2 separate regions of the Homo sapiens genome follow, and region 1 is linked to region 2. The links are contacts of gene promoters, found by promoter capture Hi-C in human tissues and cell types (Jung and others, 2019). All regions are on one chromosome and are shown on one strand. The core of a region is centred on a gene start or on the middle of the fragment in contact, and the rest is flanking DNA. Distances in the headings are between cores, read along the strand shown.

Region 1 (6,235 bases), core at 1-2,500, 520 kb before region 2:
GAAGCAGGGTCAAAGCAAGCCCTGACAAGGGGAAGGCTGTCCCCCTTAGCCTTTGGGGCAGGGGTGGCAGCAGCAACACATTCCTCGTGACTCAGCAGCCCGGTGGCACTAAGGGGAAAGATGGACTTCTCCCAACCCAGGGGAGGCTGAGACCCTCCGAGCTGGGGTTCCAGGGACACGCGTCACCTCTTCCCAGAGACCCCTCAGGAGGGAAATAAAGAGGTTTCTCTCCGTCCTCCACCAATTTATTTGCCCATCCGCAGGAGGTGACAGCTCCTGTGGTGTCTGACCACCCCCAACTCCGAAGTCCAGACAAGCTGTCCGCCCAGAATATGAGGCTGACTTGGGCACACTAGGGGAATACCCCAAAGGCCTGAAGGAGGTGCCACTGGGCTGCCAGCACTTCAGGAAGGCACAGGGCCCCACACCCCCGAGATCCAAGCTGCACTGGCTGGCAGGGGGCAGGGCGGGGGGTGGCGAGGACACAGTCCCGTGTGTCCCAGCACCGGTGCCACCCTCCTAAGCCCCGGGCAGGCAGTACGTACATGCGGACCCCGCCTCTCAAAGCACGTTTATGGAAATGAACAGGGTGGGGTGGCCCGCGCTCGCCGGTCACATGTTGGCTCGTTCCCGCTGCAGCCGCGAGTTGTAGGCGCGAGACACGGTGTTCCAGGCGTCCATGTAGCGGTCCATGCACATGGCGATGCACTTCTGCGGGAGCGGAGGGGCGCACGGCTCAGCTCGGGACTTCGCGGCCCCGGGGACCGCCCTGACCCCGGCTCCAGGACGCCCGGGCTGCAGACTACGCACGTGCAGTGACCACTCCGTCGCACCTCCCCGTTAGTCTGCGCACGCGCAGACACCTCCCCCCTCGAATCTAGGCCCTCGCGACCCTTGCCCCGAACCTCCGCGGGTCTCACCTGCTCGGAGTTGTCCAGGGAGCCCCCAGGTTTCCCTATACACTTCCGGAAACACTTGTCCGTCATCCTCTGTGGAGACACGCGAGGCTTTAGCCGCGACGTCGGCCCCCAGGGGTGGCCCTGTCGCCCCCAGCGCCCGTCCCCGGCCAGCCCCGCACCTGCAGCAGCTCCTGCGCGTTGGCCACGGCGATCTGCACTTTCACCTGCTCCATTATGAGCCCTGGGTCCAGCTTCCCGCTGCCGGAGCCCCCGAAATCGGAGCCGAAGCCGCCCTCCATGGCTCCGCAAAGTCAACCGGACCGAGGCCGCGTGCGCCGACTCGTAACTAACTGCGCCGGAAGCGGGCCGCCCGGGGCACCACGGGAAACGGAGTCCGCGCGGACGGGGACGGAGGACTACAACTCCCACACGACCGCGCGCGCCCGGGCCATTCAAGGTCGCGCGGGGGGCCCTCCGCTCATGCGGAGGCCTGGACCTGCCGTTACCTACACGAGCTACCCGTGGTTGCGACTCCGCGGGAAGAGGGAGGCCCTGACTTGGCCGGGGAGTAGGGGGGCTACTACGTGCGGCCGAGGCCGATCACTTTGTACTCACGCTCTGCCTCCAGCTCGTCCCGAAGGGCCTGCCGCGCATGCGCACGAGGCACCCGGCGCGTCTATACAGCGTGTTGCCGCCGGGGCGGAGCCCGGTCGCATCACGTGACGAAGAGTCAGCTTGTGCAACAGCGTCGGAGGCTCACTAGAAAAAAAAGGGCAGGGTCCCATGCATCGCCTGGGTCCTGTTTACACTAGCTACACTAGCCAGTGACCTTTTTCCTTGGGGGTGGAGGGATCTTTCTTAGACATCCGCTTCATTAGGGCAGAGGCCCCGGCTCGAGCTTCCCCTCAGGAATAAACTCAGAGGCAGAACCTAAAATCAAAATGTTTATTGGAGTGTTGTACAAAAAAGTTTCCAGTCATAAAATGTATATTACAAATCATTGGAAAAAAAAAAGAACACATTAGGCATGCATCTTCTTAAAAACCGAATCTCTGAAATGAAAGTCCATGCCAGCCCCAGCTGCAGCCCAGCTCCGTTTTTGCAGGTTGTGCTGTGACGCTCGCTGGACGCAGGGCTTGGAAGAGGCTGCAGGCGGCGACGCCCCAGGACTGAGGAGTCCCTCAGATCTTTAACAAAGAACTGCCGCGTGCAGGCTTCAGACCAACCCCAGCCAAAGCCGCTGGCATGAGGACAGGTGCATGATCGGATTCTGGGTCAGCCCGCAGGCCTCCCGGCTCCTGGGCTCAGCGGGGCAGGCTTCAGCGTTAACCTGGCGCTGTGCACCCCAGAACCCGCGTTGGTCCAGCAGGCGTGGGCCTCCCCCCAGGGCTGGGTGGCGTCTGATGCTTCGCAGGGAGGGCGCTAGGCTTCGAGTCACACGGCACGGGCTTACACAGAGGGATGGTTTCGCATCGTTCTAAGCGGCACACAGCTAAGCGTATTTGGGGACAAATGCAAATTGTTTCCCAGGCCATAAATAACTTTTAAAAATTTGATTTTCTTAGTGTTTCCAAAGACTCAATTCTCAATGAACCTCCAATTACCCACAGGCTGCCCAGTCCACGCTTCTCCCCACCCCCTTCAGCTAAGGGCACCCGCAGTCCTAGGACCACCCCCAGCTCCACCCAAGGCAAATGTAGGGTGGGGGGTTCTGTGGGCCTGGGGCGTGCTGTTTTCAGGACAGGACTGGGCAGCGTCTGGACATGAGGACCTGCGGGTTTTGGGGGGGACTTTGTCCCTGAGCCCAGCCTGCAAGGCTGTCGGCAAATCACAGACCAACTCCAGGATACAGCTTTGCTCCTCCAGAGCCAAAATACATAGGATGTGGCTGAGACCACTGCAGACTCCCCATAGGACAAGATCACCAAGACCCACCCCCAGAACCCTCGCTAGCACGAAGCCCAGCCAGTCGGGTCCGGGTGATTCCTGCTATGAAGGTGGGAAAGAGGACACAGTCTGTCGCCAGCATTCCCACTTCCAGCGGCTGGCAGAGGGTATCCCCGGGGCAGGCAAAGCTCCCTACCAGCCGCCTGACTGGGAGCACAGCGGCGTAGCCTCCAGGAGGAAATGCTTTGGTAAGATGCGCCCCCCTCTATCTACATGGGACCGGGACTTCTGAGAGCAAGGACAGCGAGCAGGGGCTACGTGGAGCAGCGGGTGTTTCTGCTTTGTCGGCCGCTGGCTCCTTCCCGGCCTGGGGCTGGGGCCCCCCATTCCTTCCTGCCACAGGCAGGTCCCCAGGGAGGCGGGATGCAGTCACAGGGGAGCGGTGCCGCCCCCGCCCTGCAGTGAACGCCATGGCCCGGAGACGGCGCGTGCCCATGGCTCAGTTTTGGTGTCTTTAAGACTTGAGCTGCACTTTCTGAAGGAGGCTCTGCCGTCGGAGGGTGCCCCAGCCCCACGCCACCCCGGGGAGGAGGGTCAGCCTGTCCTCAAGGCCCTGGCGTGAGCTCCTGACCTGTGTACTGACCAATGTAAAAAAATAAATATCCATTAAAAAAATAACTTCTGTGTATCTATGAGGGAGGGTGTAAACGGTGAGCTATTGCCGAAGGGGGGTGCCAGGCATTGGGAAGCTGGACTGAGGGGCTTGGGTGCGTCGTGATAGGAGTCAGGTGGCCTTGGCCTGTCTGAGAAACATGGTTTCAGCGAGAAAATCACAGATAAAAGCACAGTATGGATAGACGCATGTGTATATATAGGCACAGGGCAGACGGAGCTGGAACACGGGAGGGGCTCCACAGCGCTCTCCTCCAGAGGGTCAACATGGTGGCGTTCCCTGCAGACAGCTGTTCTGAAACTCACAGCTTCTGCCTCCAAGGCAACCAGATGTGTCCCCTCCACATCTCCCCTCCCTGCTTATTGTTGTGACAGGTCTTACGACGGGACTGTCCTCATTCTTCCTTCCCCAGGTCTTCCCCTCCCCTGCCCTGTTGGCCTTGCACAGTCAGGAACTGAACTGCGGGAAAACTCCCCCAAATAAAGTCAACGGTCCGAGAAACCCGGCCGGTGCGCTGCCAGAACGGGAATCTGGAAGCCCAGGCAGCGGAGTGAAAACCCGCCCTGGGGGCCACGCCATCCCCATGCTGGCCCACACCCGCTGCGTGGCTGCCTGAGGAGTTCCCGCTGTCCGAAGCTGGGCAGCCAGAATGCAGGCTTGGCCCCGGGCCCCACCAGGTCGACGCCTGGATTCTGAATTTGGTTTTGTAGAAAGCCTTAAAAAAACCCACCACCACTGAATTCCTACGCAGTTTCCGCGCTCCGTCCGCAGCAGGGCCGTCTCCTGTCCCCTCGCTAGCCTCGCCGGCCCTCCTCCCTCCAAGCCCAAGCATCTTCTAAACCTCCGGGTCCTGGCCCTGGGCTTCCAATTTGACCAAATGGTGAGATGAGGAGTGGGGTGGGATTGAAAAGTCTCCGGGGCAGCGGCGAAGTGGCAGCGAAGTGAGGCTGGAGGAGACCCGCCAGGAGGGAGGGCTGGGGGAGACCCACCCACACGTTCTGGCAGTTCGCTTAGAAATTCTCTAGAAATGTATCAAGAACTAAAGAAAGCCAATGATATAAAAATAGTTTTCAGTGGCTCTGGGTAAAGAAAGGTGTGTGGATGAGGAGTGTGGGTTCACATCACGTAGCAGCCTCTTGAGGTGGTCCTCGGGTCCCCCTGCAGGAAGGAAGGAAGGAAGGTCGGCCATGATCAGGGCCAGCCTGGAGGCAGCCGGCAGGTAGATGGCTGCCCCCACCTCCCCACCAGGGAGGGGCTGAGCAACAACAGTGTCTATTTCTAGAGCCTTCCATTCCACTTCCATGTCCCCATGAGCCCGCCTGTGAGCTACACATTCTGTTCTGGGTTCCAAAACAGTCACAGGAACTTGCGACGCACGCGTTTAATGCAGCTGTGGTTTCTGCACTCATCTTCTCCCCAGAAGCCAGTATTGAAGGGACCTGTGTCTTCGACTGAGGAAGCCGGTTGACCAGAGAGCATTTGGGGAGCTGTTCAACACCCACCTCTCAGGGGACCCCCTGGCCAGCTACCCTGAGGTCTGTGATGTCGCAAATTCACACGATGGGCACGACCCAGGAGGCAAGAACAGGTCTCTGCCGTGCTGGTAACAGCCAAGGCTGGCTTCACCCTGAGCCACGGCAGCCAGATGGAGCTCCCGTCGGGGATGCGGCCAGCACGCATGTGTATGTGTGTGCACGAGCTCACTCTGCCCCAGAGGCTGCCCCCCAGCCGCAAGTGGGCACAGGGGTCCTACCTGTTGGTGGAAAAGATCCTCCTCGCCAAACTCGGCTTCCTCCTCCTCTTCCTCCCCATTCTCATTCTCACGCATCACCGAGGACTTCTTCACAGTCCTCATGGCCACTTCCTGTGCGGGACAGGACACGGCGGCATGTCCCGGGATCGGGCCCAGAGCTGCTGTGGCGGCCCCGAGGGTGCCCAGACCCTGCCCAGGACTCCAGCCGAGCACCCCCCAAGCCACACACACCCACCTCGCCATCCGCGTTAACCAGGACGGTGCGGAAGCTCTCGCCCGTGCCCCAGCTGCTCTGGCCCTTCCACACCAGCGTCGAGGGGGGGCTGTGGGCCACCCCCGCACCAGCTGCCCACACCTGAGGACCCAATAACAATGGCCCCATCAGGGTCACCTCTGGTTCCAGGGACGTGGGCCAGCCAGTGGCCCCTACCACAAAGCCCCCTTCAATGCCCTGGGCGTTCAGTCCTTCCAGCCCGACGCAGGCTTATCCAGGGTGATGGTCCCCAGGATACACAAGAAGAGACCAGGGTTCACAGAGGCCAAGGGCTCTTGGCAAGCAGGGGCTGAACTGGGATCTGACACCCACCAGGCTCCATGGCCCATGCGCCTGACTGTTAACACTTCACGGGGACGCCTGCCAGCCCCAGCAGCCTGGACTCAGACCCAGGGCACACCACTCAGGCTCCAGGGAGGCCCAGTGGGGTGACACCAGCACATGGAGGTTCTATGACTGCGGCAGCCGCTCTGAGACGGTGCCTGGTGCCACCATCATCCCCACCCACCCCCGCCAAGTCCTGTGCCTCCAGTCCCCTGACCCCACCTCACACCCCATCCGTGGCCACCCTCGCCCTCCTGCCCCACCACCTACCGTGACCATCTGGCCGGCGCGCAGGATGTACTTGGGCGTGAACTTGTAGGCGATCTCCTCCCCCTCCAAGACCTGCCTCTTGATTCTCCAGTTCCCCAGAGACTGATCCTGGAAGACACGGCACACACCTGACCCTCAGCCACCAGGACTGTGAC
Region 2 (5,906 bases), core at 1,839-4,338:
GGGGCTGTGTGTGCGCCTTTCCCCTCATCCTAATGGAAGATGCAACGTCTTCCGAGTTTGAGAGTTTTCCACAGCAGCCTTCTCGGGCTAAGCCATGGTATAACACCAGGCAGTGGCAGAAGGCAAAGAACACATCCAAGACAATGACTGCCCTCACTAAGGACAAGAAAAAAAAGGCAAAAAGCATTTATTCTTTTTTTTTTTTTTGAGACAGGGTCTTGCTCCGTCTCCCAGGCTGGAGTGCAGTGAAACAATCTCAGCTCGCTGCAACCTCCGCCTCCCCGGTTCAAGCGATTCTCCTGCCTCAGACTCCCAAGTAGCTGGGATTGCAGGCACTTGCCATCACACCTGGCTAATTTTGATATTTTTAGTAGAGACGGGGTTTCCCCATGTCAATCAGGGTGGTCTTGAATTCCTGACCTTGTGATCCGCCCACCTCAGCCACTCAAAGTGCTAGGATTACAGGTGTGAGCCACCGCGCCCGGCTCTTTTTTTTTTTTTTTTTTTTTCCAGACAGGGTCTAGCTCTGTTGCCCAGGCTGGAGTGGAGTGGTACAGCCTCAAACTCGTGGGCTCAAGCGATTCTCCCCCCTCAGCCTCTCAAGTGGCTGGGACCACAGGTGCGCATCCCCATGCCCGGCCTCATTATTTTACATTTACTAAAACCTGGGGCTGAAATAGGAACAATACCAATGCTGAGCTGGACACAGACGAGGCTGTTCGCAGCTGTCAGGTGACAATGTTGAACTGACTTCAGCTCTGTGCTCCTGGAAACCAGCAAAGGTGAAACCCCGTCCTGCTGTGCTCTGGAATTGGGACAGCCAGGACCCTCCCTTCCCATACGACTTAGATAAGATTCACGCAGATGACAAGGCCAGATTCAGACCCTCCGAAATCCCATTCTTTGTCATCAGAAATGATTCACTAGGTTAGGTGTGCCCAGGCTGGAGTGCAGTGGTGTGATCATGGCTCACTGCAACCTCTGCCTCCCGAGTTCAAGCAATTCTCCCTGCCTCAGCCTTCCAAGTAGCTGGGATTACAGGCACACACTACCACGCCCGGCTAATTTTTGTATTTTTTAGTAGAGATGGGATTTCACCATGTTGGCCAGGCTGGTCTTGAACTCCTGACCTCAGGTGATCCACCTGCCTCAGCCTCCCAAAGTGCTGGGAGTACAGGCATGAGCCACCGCGCCAGGCCTAGCCAACTCTTCAGATGCCTGCATACTTGACGGTCACAGAGCTCTCCCCCTGCAGCTGTCTCCCTGTGGCTACAGCATTAGTCCCGCAGCTCAATCATCAACTGTCCCCATGCCCCTGTTGCTTATACCCCCACCCCACTGCAATAGAACCTCAAGCCTCTGGCATTACTCTCCTGCCTCTAATCCAACTAACCCTTCTCCCTATTGCAACAGCCCCTTCTCCCCCTCCCCCAATACCTCGCAATAATCCTTTTTCATAAAAGTTTCCTTACTACGTTTGGGTTTACACAAGCTTGACCACATGTTCGCAGCCTCCCGTTTCTTCCCCAAACTTTACTCAGCCTTCTGTCCTCTCCGCAGGCCCCTGAACTTTGGCCCCCCCGAGTCTGAGCAAGCAGTAAGTGTGGAGTCCCCTGTCACCTCCCCTGAGCTAGCTGACCACGAGGAGGTACATTTACTGTCAACCTCCTTTCTGCTTGTCCCCTAAAACGTTCCTCCAAACCTTTTCTTGTGTATGAAAGTAAAGCCTTTTCCTGGTTGATTTTGAGACCTGGCAGGTTTCGGAGGCTGGGGCTTATCCCTATTTTTCTCTCTCCTTCTCTAGCCAGGATTTTTTTTTTTTTTTTTTTTTTTGGTTTTTGTTTTTGAGACGGAGTCTTTCTCTGTCGCCAGGCTGGAGTGCAGCGGCGCCATGTCGGCTCACTGCAAGCTCCACCTCCCAGGTTCACGCCATTCTCCTGTCTCAGCCTCCCTGGTAGCTGGGATTGCAGGCGCCCGCCACCACGCCGGGCTAATTTTTGTATTTTTAGTAGAGACGGGATTTCGCCATGTTGTCCAGGCTGGTCTGGAACTCCTGACCTCAGGTGATCCGCCCGCCTCGGCCTCCCAAAGTGCTGGGATTACAGGCGTGAGCCACCGCGCCCGGCCCAGGATTTTATTATTTGACAGGCTCCAGGACAGGGCACCACCTCCTCCTTGGCAGACCTTCCCAAACTGACCACCAAGCCCCTGACGGCTCCTGCCCTCTCCTCCCACTCTCCCCGATCCCCTGACTGCCTCTACTGTCCCCCAACACATCCCTCGAGCCCGACTCCCTTTACTGTCCCCCCAAACTTCCCTCAAGCCCCTGATCGCCTCTACTGCCCCCCTTAAAGTGCCCCTGAGCCCCTGACTGCTTCTGCTGTCCCCTCGAGCTGCCCCCAAACTCCCGACTGCAGCTACTGTCCCCCTAAACTGCCTTCGAGCCCCTGATCACCTGTCCCCCAAAACTGCCCCTTCAAACCCATGACCGCCTCTACGGCCCCCTCAAACTGTCCCCGAGTTCCTGACCGCTGCTATTGGCCCCCTAATCTGCCCTTGAGCCTGACTCCCTTCCACTGAACCCCCAAACTGCCGCCGAGCCCCTGACCGTGTCTGTTCCCGCAAACTGCCCCTGTGCCCCTTAAACCTCTACTGTCCACTTAAATTGCCTCAAGCCCCTGACCACCTCTGCTGTCCCCACAAGCTCTCCCCAAACTCCTGACCTGTACTGTCCCCAGAAACTACCCCTCGAGCCCCTGACCGCTTTTGCTGTCACCCCAGACTGCCCCCAGCCCTACCCCTCGGCCGCTGTGACCACGTCCCCGGGGCCCAGGCGCTCGTCGTGCGCCGCCCCGCGCGTCCCTCAGCTTTCTCCGGCTGCGAACTCGGGCGGAAGCCGGTTCCTGCCGCCCCACCTCGCCCTGGGCCCGGGCTCGGCTCCCGCCCGGCACTCACCATGTCCCGCCCGCTCCTGGGCTCTCCAGGGTTAGCGCCCCGCGGTCCAGCGACCGGCGCAGGTGAGCACGACAGGACACCTGAGCCGCTCGGGGTAGGCGGGGAAGCGCGCAAGGCAGAGGGGAACTCGGCTTACCGTCCTCGGGGTCTGATTGGACAGATCTCGGGAAGTGGAGACTCTGATTGGACAGTGCTGTCGACTCCGCACCCCTGATTGGAGAATTCTCCAGTCCGTCCCCCTAGCGCCCTTGATTGGGCAGGGCTCCGCTTCGGATTAACGTCTCTGATTGGACAGTTCCCTAGGCCCCGCCCCTGCCTGTCCTGATTGGATAATTCTCTCCTCAGTGACGGGCTCGTCGAGAACACGCGTGGCTGACCCTCTAGCCGGGCAGCCGCGGATCTGGGAGAACTCACTCCAGTCCAGGGAGGGCGCGGCGTCCTCCTCCCTGACTGCACGGCAACTCCAGACTCAGTTTCCCCTCGGAGCGGCCCCTCGTGCGGGGAGGAGAGGAAGGGCACGGAGTCCCATGGGGCGGAGTCCTGCGTGGGGGCGGGACCCGCGTGCGTGACGTCACCGTGCTGTCCCGCGTGGGCGCGGACGCCTGGGGTCCAGAGACCTGGAGATCTGGAGACCAGACGACGAGGCCCCAGGAGGCCGGACCCCACCAGGCGCTCCCTGTGTTCTTAAAACTCTCGGCCGGGCGCGGTGGTTCACGCCGGTAATCCCAGCACCGTGAGAGGCGGAGACCGGCGGATCATCAGAGGTCAGGAGTTCAAGTCCAGCCTGACCAAAATGGCGAAAACCACTTCTCTCCTAAAAATACAAAAATTAGCTGGGCACGGTGGCGGGCGCCTGTAATCCCAGCTACTCCGGAGGCTGAGGCAGGAGAATCGCTTGAACCCAGGAGGCGGAGATTGCAGTGAGCCAAGATCAGGACACTGCACTCCAGCCTGGGCAACAAGAGCGAAACTGAGTCTCAAAAAAAAAAAAAGCAGCCCTCCCACAAACAGAACCACGTAAGGTCATGAAGAGAGAGGTCTCACATTTATATGCTTAATAACGAAAAAGACTCTACAAAAACCACAGGCTTAAACAAAAAATACTTTTACAGGGACACTCAGACTGGTGTGACCCTTGTTACTGATCTTTGTAGACAAGGATAATTATTTCTGAAAAATGATGTAATCCTCATTTAAAATTTTTTTTTTCCTTTATAAACCTTTGTCCCAGTCTGGGCAACATGGCAAAACCCCATATATACAAAAAATACAAAAATTAGCTGGGAATAAAGGAGTGTGCGCCTATGGTCCCAACGACTTGATAGGCTGAAGCAGGAGGATCGCTCGAGCCCGTGGGGATTGAGGCTGCAGTGAGCTGTGATCTCACCATTGTACTCCAGCCTGGGCAACAGAGACCCCCGTCTCAAAAAAATGAAAACCAAAAACAACCTTTGTCTTCCTTTACCTCCCTGAATAAGCACATAGTTTGCTATGCCGCGCATATTCCCACTGCAATGAACTGTTACCACCGTTTTTAGACAGCCTGTTATTTAGGTCGACACAGTAAAAACATGAATTACGACAATTATGTTTGTATGTAAAATGGCAAGCGATATAGAGTTTATACTTCTACTCTGTCTCAAGCTGGAAAGTCTTTTCGGAGATGAGCAGTCGCGTTCCAGGCTTTAGGAATTGCGGCTCAACTGAATAAAAGTATTCAGAATTTTCACGTCGAGTTCAAATTTATTTAAACTTCTATGATTATTTTCTCAAATGAGTTAAAATAAGAATTCAATTACCATAGGAACAGTACAGCCTTTTACTTTAAGAAATTCTCTAGGGCCGGGCGCAGTGGCTCACGCCTATAATCCCAGCACTTTGGGAGGCTGAGGCAGGTGGATCACCTGAGGTCAAGAGTTCGAGACCAGCCTGGCCAACATGGCAAAACCCTTGTCTCTACTAAAAATATAAAAATTAGCCGGGCGTGGTGGCACATGCCTGTAATCCCAACTACTTGGGAGGCTGAGGCAGGAGAATCACTAGAGCCCGGGAGGCGGGGATTGCAGACCCAAGATCGCACCACTGCACTCCGCCTGGGTGACAGAGCGAGACTCCATCTCAAAACAAAAACAAACAAAAAAACGCCATTTGAACGACACGTTTTGTTTCCCCCCGCTTTATTATTTTTAAAAAGTACCATGGTGTACACATTGCATTACAATTGTTTTTGTGGCTCAATGAAAAAAATAAATCCTCCACCTCTCTTCATCTTAATAGGTGACTTCCTTACTCCTTACAGATGTAAGATGATGTAAGCTGATGTAACAAGGTCTCTCTAAATAGACAGTGGACTTGTTTCCAATCTTTTGCTACTCAAAGCTTGTCTTATGTTGCACCACCATGCCTGGCAGATTTTTGTATTTTTTGGTAGAGATGGGGTTTCACCATGCTGGCCAAGTTGGTCTGGAACTCCTGACCTCAAGTGATCCGCTTGCCTCAGCCTTCATCAATGGATATTAATGAAGCTTAGGATACTCACATTGTGTCAAAGATAAGAGGCAAGGAAACTACAAAGAAATTGGAAGTGATAGGAAACAGTGGAATAACTGTCAGAGAGGAAGCAGTGGGAACAAAAGACAGGAAAGAAAAACATGCCTATTATCAGAGTCCCTGAAGAAGTAAACAGTAGCACAGCTTTTCACCTTACATCATTAAGAAACACATAAATAGGCCGGGCGCGGTGGCTCACGCCTGTAATCCCAGCACTTTGGGATGCCAAGGTGGGCAGATCACCTGAGGTCCAAAGTCCGAGACCACCCTGACAAACATGGAGAAACCCCATCTCTACTAAAAATACAAAAATGAGCTGGACATGGTGGCAAATGCCTGGAACCCCCGCTAATCGGGAGGCTGAGGCAGGAGAATCACTTGAACCCAGGAGGTGGAGGTTG

What was found. The method cuts DNA at HindIII sites, captures the fragments that hold promoters and counts their contacts. A contact is called where the count stands out against the background at its distance.
Region 1: a contact is called between the fragment with the promoter of TIMM13 here and the fragment with the promoter of ZNF77 in region 2, in 3 of the 25 tissues and cell types used here (dorsolateral prefrontal cortex, psoas muscle and spleen).

The regions. Positions count from the first base shown.
Region 1 is chr19:2,426,336-2,432,570 of GRCh38, forward strand. TIMM13 (translocase of inner mitochondrial membrane 13) reads right to left here and starts at 1,251. Exons shown (of 3, transcript NM_012458.4): 1 at 1,079-1,251; 2 at 921-989; 3 at 1-711. The coding sequence starts at 1,198. The coding sequence ends at 613. It overlaps LMNB2 (lamin B2), which reads right to left. Exons shown (of 12, transcript NM_032737.4): 9 at 6,081-6,188; 10 at 5,448-5,567; 11 at 5,213-5,323; 12 at 1,831-4,617. The coding sequence ends at 4,576. RefSeq lists enhancers at 1-741, 742-1,487, 1,572-1,721 and a silencer at 932-1,021. The HindIII fragment of the contact is 21,330 bases long and covers 1-6,235 here.
Region 2 is chr19:2,941,883-2,947,788 of GRCh38, forward strand. ZNF77 (zinc finger protein 77) reads right to left here and starts at 3,089. Exons shown (of 4, transcript NM_021217.3): 1 at 2,956-3,089. The coding sequence starts at 2,958. RefSeq lists silencers at 2,785-2,864, 3,005-3,254 and an enhancer at 3,325-3,484. The HindIII fragment of the contact is 6,632 bases long and covers 290-5,906 here.